Linked DNA regions of Homo sapiens: all the other regions are linked to region 2. The links are contacts of gene promoters, found by promoter capture Hi-C in blood cells and fetal thymus (Javierre and others, 2016). All regions are on one chromosome and are shown on one strand. The core of a region is centred on a gene start or on the middle of the fragment in contact, and the rest is flanking DNA. Distances in the headings are between cores, read along the strand shown.

Evidence for each region. The method cuts DNA at HindIII sites, captures the fragments that hold promoters and counts their contacts. A CHiCAGO score of 5 or more calls a contact.
Region 1: a fragment that was not itself captured here is called in contact with the fragment with the promoter of LIME1 in region 2 in 1 of 17 cell types (naive CD8 T cells); the score reaches 5.4 in naive CD8 T cells.
Region 3: a fragment that was not itself captured here is called in contact with the fragment with the promoter of LIME1 in region 2 in 6 of 17 cell types (M2 macrophages, naive CD4 T cells, activated CD4 T cells and 3 more); the score reaches 6.1 in M2 macrophages.

The regions. Positions count from the first base shown.
Region 1 is chr20:64,051,414-64,055,911 of GRCh38, forward strand. It overlaps a transcript of TCEA2 not described here. Among named protein-coding and RNA genes, the nearest start is that of SOX18, 4.0 kb to the left of the region's middle. RefSeq lists enhancers at 1,527-2,216, 3,597-4,286, 4,287-4,498. The HindIII fragment of the contact is 2,452 bases long and covers 933-3,384 here.
Region 2 is chr20:63,735,374-63,739,275 of GRCh38, forward strand. LIME1 (Lck interacting transmembrane adaptor 1) reads left to right here and starts at 1,291. Exons shown (of 6, transcript NM_017806.4): 1 at 1,291-1,339; 2 at 2,160-2,274; 3 at 2,448-2,529; 4 at 2,600-2,687; 5 at 2,810-3,126; 6 at 3,225-3,730. The coding sequence starts at 2,177. The coding sequence ends at 3,527. It overlaps ZGPAT (zinc finger CCCH-type and G-patch domain containing), which reads left to right. Exons shown (of 7, transcript NM_181485.3): 6 at 1-191; 7 at 408-769. The coding sequence ends at 546. RefSeq lists enhancers at 717-896, 1,476-2,392, 2,592-3,186 and silencers at 2,327-2,546, 2,617-2,766, 2,847-2,906. The HindIII fragment of the contact is 14,127 bases long and covers 1-3,902 here.
Region 3 is chr20:64,003,960-64,008,070 of GRCh38, forward strand. All of the region lies in intron 9 of PRPF6 (pre-mRNA processing factor 6), which reads left to right. Among named protein-coding and RNA genes, the nearest start is that of PRPF6, 25 kb to the left of the region's middle. RefSeq lists a silencer at 1,135-1,307. The HindIII fragment of the contact is 5,259 bases long and covers 1-4,111 here.

The sequences.
Region 1 (4,498 bases), core at 909-3,408, 320 kb after region 2:
GCAGTCAGGGGTCACCAGGGCCTGGCTCAGCCTGGGCAGTGGCTGGTCACTGCGGCCTGGGAAAGAGGTCCTCGGGGTCCTCTGCAGTAGCCCTCACACGTGGGGAAGGATTTGCAGTTCCCTGGGGGCCCTGCTTGGTCCTCTGCCACCCCCGAGAGCCCAGAGTCACTGGAGCTGCTCTAAACATAGTGGCAGGCAGTGTCCGGCATGACCTCATCGCCTCCACGTCCCCCACAACACCCACCAGCAGCCGCCTTGCCTGGCGCCAGCCAGTGACCCACCCTCTTGGCTGGGCTGTGGACTCAGGTGTCCGGCTGTCATGTCCTGTGAGTCGGGGCTGGGCGGGGAGCCTCCTGAGGTGCTCCTCTCCCTCTGCGTGGCAGGGAGGAGGCTGGCAGCCCTGGCCCAGTGTCCAGATGGGACAAAGTGGGGGTAGGGACCACAGCCAGGGTGGCGTGATCTGGAGCCGCAGGGCTGGGGGGACTTGCCAGGGCTGTAGAGGGGATGGTGTGGGTGTGGCCAGCTGTGCTGAGGGAGGGGCATCCGATGTGTGTCTGTGCATCTGTGTGTGGCCTGTGTCTGTCTGTCTGCCTGGGTGTGGGGTGAGGGGGACTCTAGTGCTGGAGGCTGCCCAGGGCCTTGAGAGCCAGGCAAGCTGGACGTTCCCAGGAAGAGATGAGGACCCATAATAGGTCCAGGACCAGGGGTCCTGCTCCGTGAAGTTTGGAGGGTCCCCAAGGCTTCTCTGGCCACTGAGCTTGGGCCCCAGCATTCTCCAAAAGAGGGCAGGCAGTTCATGAGTCTAGGGGCATTCCTCTGCCTCTGGAACCCCACCTCAGTCTGTCCTGGACTAGGTGGGCTATGGCCCACCCTTGGGAAGGAGCCTATCTGTAGCCCCCAAGCCCCAGTCAGAAAGGCAGAGTTTGGGGGCAAGCTTTCTCTACAAGGGTGGGGCTGGCCTGGGCACTGAGTGGACACTGTCCTCCTGCCTGCCACCTGCCCCTCTCCCTCAGCTTGGACAGGAACCCCGGCCTCTGAGTGAGGTCCGCAAAGGATGCTGGGTAGTCCCCCTCCGTGGCTCTGGGTGGGAGCTTGGCTTGGCGCGGCTCTGGGCCGGGATGGCAGGACCTCCCAGCCACTGCCTGGGCACAGACCTCCCAGGATCCCACCAGCCCAGCCCCTGCGGCTGCAAGAGCAGCGAGGCTGGGACCAATTACCGAGTCCCGCAGGGCCTGGACCCTCCTGCTCCTCAAGGGTGAAGGTGGGGGTTCCTGTTGGATGCAGTTTCAGGTGGAGGGGGCTCTCTGGCCTCCCGAACCTCGGCTCTCTCCAGTTCAGATCCTACCTTCTGCCCACAGCTGAACACCTCTTCCTACAGGGAGCCCCCGACCTCCCAGCCACTGTCCTCCAGAGGCCATAGCATCTTGGTCTCCTTCTGTCTGCTGCCTCGGTAGGCTTCCTTTGGGACCCGTGGAGGCATGTCTGACTCCTCAGGAGCTCTGTATTTAGTGGGCCTTGTCCTGGGGTGGCGGCTCCAGGCCTAGTGAGACATGGCAGAGGCCAGGGCAGGGAGAATGTGAAGCTGGGGCGAGGGTCTGTGACGAGGCCGCCTGACGCCTCAGCACCAGGTGGACACAGTTGTGTGCATGTCCCTCTTGGCCAATGACAGGTCCGGTTCAGGTGGCCCTTGCCCAGGGACAGAGGCTTCTCCTGGCTCCGTGCCTTCCAGCTCTCAGTCCTGGTGTGCACAGCGTCACCGGGCTTCCGATAGCTGCCGGCCTCAACTCTGGGAGAGGGCAGGTGGGGCGGCAGGAGGTGCCTGTGCTTTCCTAGGCATGAGCAGGCATGAGAGGTGCACATGCTCCTGCTCACCTGGGCGGCGCCTCTCAACTGTTAGGTGTGGGGTTAGGGTTCACCTGACGATTTGCCGCAGTCCAGCGGACCCGAGAGTTGCATGCAGAGCTGGGGTTGCGGTGCGAGTGGGGAAGGGTCTGAAGGTGTGGGTGCAGGGGGCTGTGCTGGGGCCTGCAGGCTGGGGTGTGCGGTGTGAGTGGGGTGCTTTTGTAGTCTAAGGGGTGATGTGCCAGTCGTCGTGTGGTGTCAGGTGTCAGTCGTCGTGTGGTGTCAGGGTCTCTTCTACTCGGTGCTAAGGGCCAGCAGGACCGAGAGGGGTAGGGGCTTCTCTGGGTCGAGGGCCACAGGGGGCTGGTGGGGGTGGGAGTGCTGAATGCACAGGGTGATGCTGGGCTTCGGGTAGCAGATGTGCTGTGGACAGTCGGGGTCGGGTCATCTGCGGCGAGCGGGGCTTCTGTAGGTGCTCCCAGGGCCCTGGTGATGTGGAAGCTGTTCTCAAATTCTGGGGTGTTGTGCTGTGGTGGGCATGTACCTAGGGTGTTATCAAGGGCTGTGCCCACTTTTAGGGGCACTGGGCAAGAGTCGGGGTGTCAGAGCAGCTGCTTGAGCTCCGTGGGGGCCATTGTGTGGCCCTTGGGGTGTCCTGCCCTGGGGGCGGCTGCAGGGCCGCTTGTGTCCCTGGGTGTTGCTGCCTGCTGTGCGGCCTTCCCAGTGATGTTTGTGTGTGTGTGTGTGTTGGGGGGGTTCCATGGGAAGCAGGCTGGGGGGCTGGGCTGCTCCGGGTTTCTGAGGCAACAGCAGGGAGGGGCCAGGAAACTGCAGCTCAGGAAGGAAGGCCGGCCTTGCAGGAGGGGGCCTGGGGCCAGCTTGGGCTGAGCAGGCGCCAGACATTCTGTGCTGCGGCCCCGGCCCCCACTGGCTGGGAGCTCCTGCCCAAGTTCCGCTGGCCCCACCCTTGTCTCCACCTCCATGCTTGTATGGCTGCCTTTATTCAGACCGTGGTGACTTGGGCTTGGGTCTGTGGGTGACCTGGTCCTGTGCTTATGTGAGCCCCAGTCCATTTGTGGCTCTGTAGAGGCCCAGATGGGGCTCTCAGTGTACCCTGCACCGTGGGGCATGTGTTAGCACACTCCGGTCCCCAGGGTCCCTGGAGGGCAGTGTCCACTCTGACTACCCTGTCCTGGGCTGGCCCAGCCTCCTTCTCCCCTGCCAGGCTGGTAAGTCGGGAGAGGGAGAACATCCTCAGGGGTCATCTGTCTCCCAGCCACGGAGGGGCACTGCAGGGCCGGATGCCTGAAGCTGTGTGTTTCTTTTTGTTGCTTGTCCTGGCATTGGTGACAGCCAGCTGGGGCTGCCACATAGGCTGGAGGGGGCAGGCCTGTGTTCTGGGGGCTCATCCACCCCTTCTTGCTCAGGGACAGGCAACATCTATCCATCCATTTGTTATTGAGCACCTGTTGTGTAGTAGACCCTGTTTTAGGGGTTAGGAATTTGGCAGAGAACAAAACAGACAGGTCCCTGCCTGTGGGAAGCTTCCATTATGGTGAGAAGAGACAGACAATCAACAAATCCACAAACAGGTGTGGTGACTCATGCCTGTAATCCCAGCACTTTGGGAGGCTAAGGTGGGCGGATCACCTGAGGTCAGGAGTTCGAGACCAGCTTGGCCAATATAGTGAAACCCCTGCCTCTACTTAAAAAAAAAAAAAAAAAATACAAAAATTAGCCAGGCGTGGTGGCGCATGTCTGTAATCCTAGCTACCCTGGAGGCTGAGGCATGAGAATCGCTTGAACCCAGGAGGCAGAGGTTGCAGTGAGCCAAGATCGCACCACTGCACTCCAGCCTGGGTGACAGAGTGAGACTCTGTTTCCAGACAAAAGCAAAAACAAAAAACAAAAATTAGCTGGGCGTGGTGGCACATGCTTGTAATCCCAGGTAGTAGGGAGGCTAAGGCACACGAATTGCTTGAGCCCGGGAGGTGGAGGTTGCAGTGAGCCGAGATCGCACCACTGCACTCCAGCCTGGGCGACAGAGGAAGACTGTTTCAAAAAACAAAAACGAAACAAAACAAACCTAACCAAAAACAAATCCACAAACAAGCCAGAACTTGGGGTGCCAGGTGTAGGGAGGGGGGCTGTGTCAGGGCCACACATGGCTTTTGCCCTTGGGGGTTCATCAGGTATAGGGAGGGGCTGTGTCAGGGCCACACGTGGCTTTTGCCCTTGGGGGTTCATGGGAGGAGTCTTTTCACAGAGGGAGGAGCATGTGCCAAGGCCCTGGGGCAGGGAAGTCTGCTGGTGTGAGCAGAGCAGGGGGTGCAGAGAGGAGGGGATGAGGCTCAGAGGGAACAAGGGGCTGAGTTGGCTCTGGGAGGGTCTTGCATTTTCTGAGTGAGGTGGGACCTTGGGAGGTTCTGAGTGGAGTGTGATCTGCCTCAGCTCAGCTGCTACGTGAAGACGGGGCTGTGCGGGGCAGGAGGGACGGGCAGTCCCCTGCCAGAAGGCAGGGGGCTCTGCTTCTGCCGCGGCGGGAGCCTGGCCAAGGTTTGCTCTCAGACCCCATCTGGCTGCCCCAGGAGTCTCCCTGGTCTCTCTCTGGGAGGCCTGGGCCCCTGGGAGGTGCCGCCTCAGGGAACCCTGGTTT
Region 2 (3,902 bases), core at 41-2,540:
CAAGGTCAGGCTCCTGGGGCCCTAGAAGCCGGGGCGGCCCCAGCGGGGAGGAGGAGCAAGGACATGTACCATGCCAGCAAGAGTGCCAAGCGGGCCCTGAGCCTGCGGCTCTTCCAGACTGAGGAGAAGATCGAGCGAACCCAGCGGGACATCAGGAGCATCCAGGAGGCTCTCGCCCGCAACGCTGGCCGGTACGTGTGGGGCCCAGCTCAGGGCAAAGGGCGACCCAGGGTGGCCCTGCCCCCGGGATACATGCTGGAGGTCACCTGACCCAAGCATAGCGGGCTGAGTCCAGGAGGGGTCTGCATGTTGGAGGACGGGCAGCGGGCACACAGGCAGTGGGTACGGCAGACTGGGGTTGGTGGCATGGCCCAGGACCCCACGCTGACTAGTGAGCCCCTCCGCAGGCATAGCGTGGCGTCAGCCCAGCTGCAGGAGAAGCTGGCAGGAGCCCAGCGCCAGCTGGGGCAGCTCCGGGCTCAGGAAGCCGGCCTGCAGCAGGAGCAGAGGAAGGCAGACACCCACAAGAAGATGACTGAGTTCTAGAGACCCCACAAGCACTATGGACGAAGCGTGGGACCCCAGCACGGGCTGCCCTCAGGAAGACCAGTGTTGCCCGAGGAGGGGCCGGCCTGCTGGCCTGGGGCGTGCAGACACTGCTGAGTGGAGACAGAGCTGCGGGGTCCCATCTGGACACTTACTTGCCCACCTGCCAGTGTCTTGGGCATTTCCTTGGCAAGGACATTAAAGTGATTTCATCACAGTGTCATTCAGTGGAGATCAGCTGGCTGCAGGGTCTCTGGGGAGAGAAGGGTCTGTGCAGGGCTGTGGTGAGAGACGGGCTGGGCTGGAGGGGCCTAGGAGGCCGGCATTCTCCCTTCTTACCCTTCTCTGACCAAGGCAGATCGGAGGCCAGGGTGCCCGCCAGGCTGCCTGACACCCACAGATGGGTGGAGCTCAGTGCTGCTCCAGCGGGCGAGACGGGCGGGAGAGGACTGTGGCCCACCACGTGGGGCACTCTTGGTGAGGCAGGCGGACCTGGCCCTGTGGGTTTGGGGGTTCTGTGCCAGCTCTGCTCACGTCTTCGTGTGTGGAGGGGTTGTGAGTTAGGCTGTCAGAACAGTGCGGGCTAGAGGCGCACACGTTTCATCTAGGCTTCGGGCGGGGCGCAGCAGGTGGGTGAGGCTGCGGTGGTGGCTGCTGCCCAGGGTGGGAGGCTCAGGGGAGGCGCTTGGCGACAGGAGCAGGAAGTGATGAGGTGGGGAGCTCAGCCGAGGGCTGCACAAAGACCTTCCTGGCCTGCCCCAGACAGAGCTGAGGACCCCTGGCCGTGGGCTTGGTAAGTGCCCTCCTGGGGGGCAGCTGGGGTCTGGGAGGCCTTGGGATGTGGCTGCAGCTGGGTCAGTCAGCCAGGCTGAAGCCCACTCCCTGGGTCTGAGCAGACTGGCCCCAAACTCCAGAGACCACCCCTCACCCCCCAGCTTCTGTCTCTGCTGCTGGACTGTGCTGTTTGTAAGGCATCCCCCACCCCGAGAAGTTCTGCTAAGATCCCCAAGAAGGGGACAGATCCTCTCTGGCAGAGACACTGGCAGACAAGAAGAGCCAGAGAGAAGTGGGGTGGGGGCATCAGCACCCCCAGCAGCTGCTGCTGCCTGCTGACCCAGCCTCCAGCTCCTCCGGGTGCAGGGTCCCTCCTGCTGACCAGCCTCCAGCTCTTCCCAGTTCTGGGCTCCGCAGCGAGCGGCTTGGGGGCACTACCTGACACAGGAGACCATGTCTGGGCAGAGGGTGGCTGCAGGTGGAGTCTGTGGCCTGTGGCGCACACCCAGGGGCTCCCCCGATGCTGGTTACTATCTGGGCTATGGTGGCCACAGCTGTCTTGCCCCTCCTCACGGCCGTGCTGGGTGTTACCGTGGTCACCCGCAGGGACACGGAGGGGCCAGGCAGAGCAGCCCTAGTTCACCTCACCGGGAGCCCCCGCCAGAAGGTGGGCACCTCTGGGAGGGAGGGACTGCCAGGCCTTGGGGCTTCCTGTGCTGAGTCAGAGCTGGAACGGGAGACGCAGGAGCCCCGCAGCCGCGGGAGGTGCAGATTTGGGGCTGCCAGGTGGCGCCAGGTCCCCTTGGCCAGCCCCCAGCGCCCCTTTCTTCTGTCCCCAGGGCCTCGGCTTCACAGGATGGGGCTGCCAGTGTCCTGGGCCCCTCCTGCCCTCTGGGTTCTAGGGTGCTGCGCCCTGCTCCTCTCGCTGTGGGCGCTGTGCACAGCCTGCCGCAGGTAGGTCCCTCAGCCGCGTTCTGTCTGGGGCCTCGCTGCGGCTGCCATTCACAGCCCAGCGCGGGAAGGGGCTGGAGGCAGGTCCGCGCACCCAGCTCGGCACGCGCGCCTGCACCGGGCCTTGGACCCGAGGCTGACGACCCCGCCCCCCGCCCCCCACCTCTACCCCCAAGGCCCGAGGACGCTGTAGCCCCCAGGAAGAGGGCGCGGAGGCAGCGGGCGAGGCTGCAGGGCAGTGCGACGGCGGCGGAAGCGGTGAGTGCCAGGCTGTCCCGGGGACCAGGGTGGGGTCCGCAGGGCACCGACCAGCCTTCCTCGCCCCCAGTCCCTACTGAGGCGGACCCACCTCTGCTCCCTCAGCAAGTCGGACACCAGACTGCACGAGCTGCACCGGGGCCCGCGCAGCAGCAGGGGTGAGCAGAGGGCGGGGCGGGGGCGGCCGGGCGGGGCTTACTGTGCAGCGCGTGCCAACCCCTGGGCCAGACCCGCTCCTGCCCCCTGCCCGGAGTGAACTCTGCCCTGACCCCACCCCCAGCCCTGCGGCCTGCCAGCATGGATCTCCTGCGCCCACACTGGCTGGAGGTGTCCAGGGACATCACCGGACCGCAGGCAGCCCCCTCTGCCTTCCCACACCAGGAGCTGCCCCGGGCTCTGCCGGCAGCTGCAGCCACCGCAGGGTGCGCTGGCCTCGAGGCCACCTATTCCAACGTGGGGCTGGCGGCCCTTCCCGGGGTCAGCCTGGCGGCCAGCCCTGTGGTGGCCGAGTATGCCCGCGTCCAGAAGCGCAAAGGGACCCATCGCAGTCCCCAAGAGCCACAGCAGGGGAAGACTGAGGTGACCCCGGCCGCTCAGGTAACGTGGGCCAGGGTAGGGCGCTGTGGGTGGGGCCGGCAGATCCTCAGCAGGTTGGATGGTGCTGACCCCTCCTCGGGTTGGCTTCCTGTCTCCAGGTGGACGTCCTGTACTCCAGGGTCTGCAAGCCTAAAAGGAGGGACCCAGGACCCACCACAGACCCGCTGGACCCCAAGGGCCAGGGAGCGATTCTGGCCCTGGCGGGTGACCTGGCCTACCAGACCCTCCCGCTCAGGGCCCTGGATGTGGACAGCGGCCCCCTGGAAAACGTGTATGAGAGCATCCGGGAGCTGGGGGACCCTGCTGGCAGGAGCAGCACGTGCGGGGCTGGGACGCCCCCTGCTTCCAGCTGCCCCAGCCTAGGGAGGGGCTGGAGACCCCTCCCTGCCTCCCTGCCCTGAACACTCAAGGACCTGTGCTCCTTCCTCCAGAGTGAGGCCCGTCCCCCGCCCCGCCCCGCCTCACAGCTGACAGCGCCAGTCCCAGGTCCCCGGGCTGCCAGCCCGTGAGGTCCGTGAGGTCCTGGCCGCTCTGACAGCCGCGGCCTCCCCGGGCTCCAGAGAAGGCCCGCGTCTAAATAAAGCGCCAGCGCAGGATGAAAGCGGCCAGCCTCGCAGCCTGCTCTTCTTGAAAGCTGGGCGGGTTGGGGCGGGGGGCTTCTCTGGAAGGCTTGGAGCTGTCCCCTCTGGCCTTGGGGGACTGGCTGCCCCCGGGGCGCCCGGGCCTAGCCGAGGCGGTGCTCCTGCCGGCCAGACTCTCGGTCAGTGCGGGCACGG
Region 3 (4,111 bases), core at 572-3,071, 270 kb after region 2:
GAAATCAGTTTATCTTTTTTCAGCTAGGAAGAAATAGTTCTTTGATGAAGAGCCCATGAAAGTCTGGGTAATTAGTATTGTTTACTTAGAAAAGCTCTATTGAATTCTTCCTGCCACAGTTTGATGAATGATCATGAATGTCTTTGTGGCCACTCCCTGCTCACCACCAGATTGTCTGGGTTCATTTCCAGTTGGTTTGGATTTGGAGATGGGAGTATGCTGTTGGAGGCGGGGGCCTTCGGGGAGTGTTGAGGGACTGTGTTTCCACGGCTGTTCTCTCAGGGAGTGGCCTCCTGGCTGTGCTCTCTCAGGCAGAGAAGCTGGGCTAAGGTGGAATGAACCCAGGATCTCCAGGATGGCCTTTGCCGCTGCCCTAATACTGGTCCTGGCCTGCCCTTTCCCAAGAGTGTTTCCAAAAACTGTATTCTTTTCCTGGGGTGAAGCCCAGCACTGCTTCATTTGGTTATTAGCAAACACTTACACGTTGCTTGAAGGGTCTGGTTTTTGAAATTAAGATGACAGCTACTTCCACTGGTGACTTAGGACACCTGCCAGCCAGGGAGCCTGGCAGTGCATGGTCTCTGTGAGCTCTGGGTCGCTGTTGGGCTGAGCTGACACCTTAGTCCTTTGTTGGGAGAATGGGCGTTTTGGGTGCTGATCTTGAGACCTGAGGAGGCTGAGTAACCTTAGGCATGGTGCTTGGCCTCTGAGCTTCCATGTCTTCCTCTGTAAAAGGGAAGAGGGCTTTCAGGATTGGGGAGGGTGCAGCATGTGAGCTTCCTGGCCAGGGTGGGGTGTCCCACGTGCAGAGTCCCCTGGGGAGGCCCGACTGGCAGCTCCCCTACAATAATGCACTCACATGCTGTGTACTCCGCTAGTTAATGCAGATGTGTGGAAGTGGAGTTATTTTACACTAACGCCATATGCTCTGGCCTGTGAAGCGTGGCATCCTTCAGTGGCCGTCGCCAGCGTGTCCCTCTGGGGGCACAGGAATGGCACAGTTCAGGTTGAGGGTCTTCCCTGCAGTCACGTGACCCCCGGAGAGCATGTTGGCCTCTGCACGGTCACGTCTTCATGGCTGTGTCTAGCATTCAGAATACTCTTCTGTTCTAGGCCAACTTCAGGGGTGTGTGCTTCCTCCACTTCTGCTCATAAAGTCACACTCCTTGAAGGCCATTGTATCATGGTGTGCCATGTGGCTTCCGAAAGCACCTGGGGAAGGTGACCTTGTTGGTTTTAGTGCCATGCCTGTGGGCTGCTGATGAGATGCCATGGAGATATGTCAGCTCTCTCCCAAAACTTGAAGACACAGAGTCCTGGGAGTCGTAAGTTAATGACTCCATAAATTGAGTCCCGCATGAATATTCTGTTCTTTAGAGACGCGAAGTTCATCTCCACCAATGTACAAAGTATTAAGGGAAGTAGTTCATATTTAGACAAATAGAGCACTCATCTCCCACGCAGTCGAGGTGAGAGCGCACAGGAAAAACAACTGGGTCGTTCTGTGTCTTCTCTCTATGCCTAGTCGCCTGGTTGGAGGTTAGGACTTTCCTTCTTTACTGCTGTGCCCTCTGCTGTCACCCTGCTTGGTCAGGGTTCTTGACCTGGATGAGTAACCCAAATCTTTTTTTTGTTTTAGACAGAGCCTCGTCCTATTGCCCAGGCTGGAGAGCAGTGTTGCAATCAGCTCACTGCAGCCTCAACCTCCTGGGCTGTAGTGATCCTCCTGCTTCTGGCTCTTGAGTAGCTGGGACCATAGGTACATACTACCATGCCTAAATAATTTTTATTTTGAGACAGGATCTTGCTCTGTTGCCTAGGCTGGAGTGCAGTGGCATGATCATGGGTCACTGAAGCCTCAACCTCCCAGACTCAAACTATCCTCCAGTCTCAGCTTCCTGAATAGCTGGGACTCCAGGGACATACCACCATGCCTGGCTGAGTTTTTAATTTTTCAAAGAGACGAGGTCTCCCTGTGTCATCCAGGCTGGTTTTAAACTCCTGGGCTCAAGTGATCCTCCCACCTCAGTCTCCCAAAATGCTGGGACTGCAGATGGGGGCCACTGTGCTCAGCCAGGACCCATATCTTTATCCCCAAAGGGTCTGACTTGTTGGTAGTTTTGCTTTTTTGGTGGCTGTAGTTCCCATTAACTTTTACTGGTAAAAGCAGAAATACTAAACTGTTTTTAGGACTGGCCTCTAGATAGTCTCCCACAGTGGGTGGCAGCAACTCAGTCTCGCTTTGGGAGTCAGGGTTAGCCTCTCCAGCCAGGGCTGGTACATGAGGAGGCCAGAGGGAGCTGTGGTCTGCACCCTGGTTGGCACATACTCCCTTTGGAGTAGCTCGTAGCTTGCTCTTTTTTTTTTTTTTTTTTGAGACTGAGTCTTGCTCTGTTGCCCAGGCTAGAGTGCAGTGGCGCAATCTCGGCTCACTGCAACCTCCGCCTCCTGGGTTCAAGGAATTCTCTTGCCTCAGCCTCCCAAGTAGATGGGATTACAGGCACCTGCCACCACACCCGACTAATTTTTGTATTTTTAATAGAGATGGGGTTTGGTTTCACTGTGTTGGCCAGGCTGGTCTCGAACTCCTGACCTCATGATCCACCCGCTTCAGCTTCCCAAAGTGCTGGGATTACAAATGTGAGCCACCACACCCGGCCTTTGGACCAGCTCTCTTGACAGGAGGGTCCAAGGAGGCGGAGACGGGACTCTTGGCAGTGGAGACGGGACTTGTGGCAGCGGAGATGGGACTTGAGCCATTCAGACATCACTGTTTATTCCTAGACCCGTGTGTTCTGGCTGTGAGATCCAGCCGGGATTGGTGTCTATTCACAGCATTTGTGGCATCCTACTGGGCTGCCAGGCCATGGCTCTGAGTGATGGGCACATGGTAAGACCATGTTCTGCCTGAATCGGTGAATTCATATAGCTTCGTCTTCTGGCCGTCTTTCAGTTGGTCAAGTGGACATCCAGATAATAAGGCCAGGGGTGTCAGTGCCAGTGTGCTGTGCAGAACCATGCGTAAACCACAGCAGACTTTTGTCTTCTCAGTCCCTTGACCCTAAGGGACTCCCCAGAGGTTGTCAGTGTGGGCTGAGGGAGGAAAGCGGTTGAGCAGCCACCAGTGCAGGAGGCATCTGCCCCATAGCTTAGGCAGCTGTGCTGCACCTGCCTTCCTTCCACACCATCTCCTGGGTGCCATTTCCACCCTATGAGGCCACTGCTGCATCTGCCCAACCTTGTGGCTTGGTCTGTCAGTAACACCTGGAGTGGGCAGCAGGTTGCTCAGTCATTTTATGTCCCTTAGCTGAGTGTTCATTCCCTGCCAGGGCCTCACAGCCAGCCTGGGGCTGTTTCTCAGCAGGAGAGCAGGTACCTGCAGGAGAGCTAGCTCACTTGCCCTCTCCCCTCCCCGCCTCCCCTCCCCTCTGCCTCCCGTCCCCTCTTCCCCTCCCCGCCTCCGCTTCCCTCCCCGCCTCCCCTCCCCTGCCCTGCCCTTTTCCTCTTTTTTTTTTTTTTGAGACTGAGTCTCCCTCTTTTGCCTAGGCTGGAGCTGGAGTTCAGTGGTGCAGTTTTGGCTCACTGCAACCTCCACCTCCTGGGCTCAAGCGATTCTCCCACCTCTGCCTCCCAGCTAGCTGGAACCACAAGTACATGCCACCACGCCCAGCTAATTTTTGTATTTTTTGTAGAGACAGGGTTTCGCCATGTTGTCCAGGCTAGTCTCGAATTCCTGGGCTCAAGCGATCCTCCCACCTCAGCCTCCCAAAATGCTGGGATTATAGGTGTGAACCACCACAATCAGCTGCCTGGCCTAATTTCTTTTTCTTTTTTTTGAGTTGGAGTCTCTCTCTGTCACCCAGGCTAGAGTGCAGTGTCACAGTCTCAGCTTATTGCACCTGCGCCTTCTGGGTTCAAGCGATTCTCCTGCCTCAGCCTCCCCAGTAGCTGGGATTACAGGTGCATGCCACCATACCTGGCTAATTTTTGTATTTTTAGTAGAGACAAGGTTTCACTGTGTTGGCCACGCTGGTCTCGAACTCCTGACCTCAGGTGATCTGCCCACTTCGACCTCCCAAAGTGCTGGGATTACAGGCGTGAGCTACGGGCT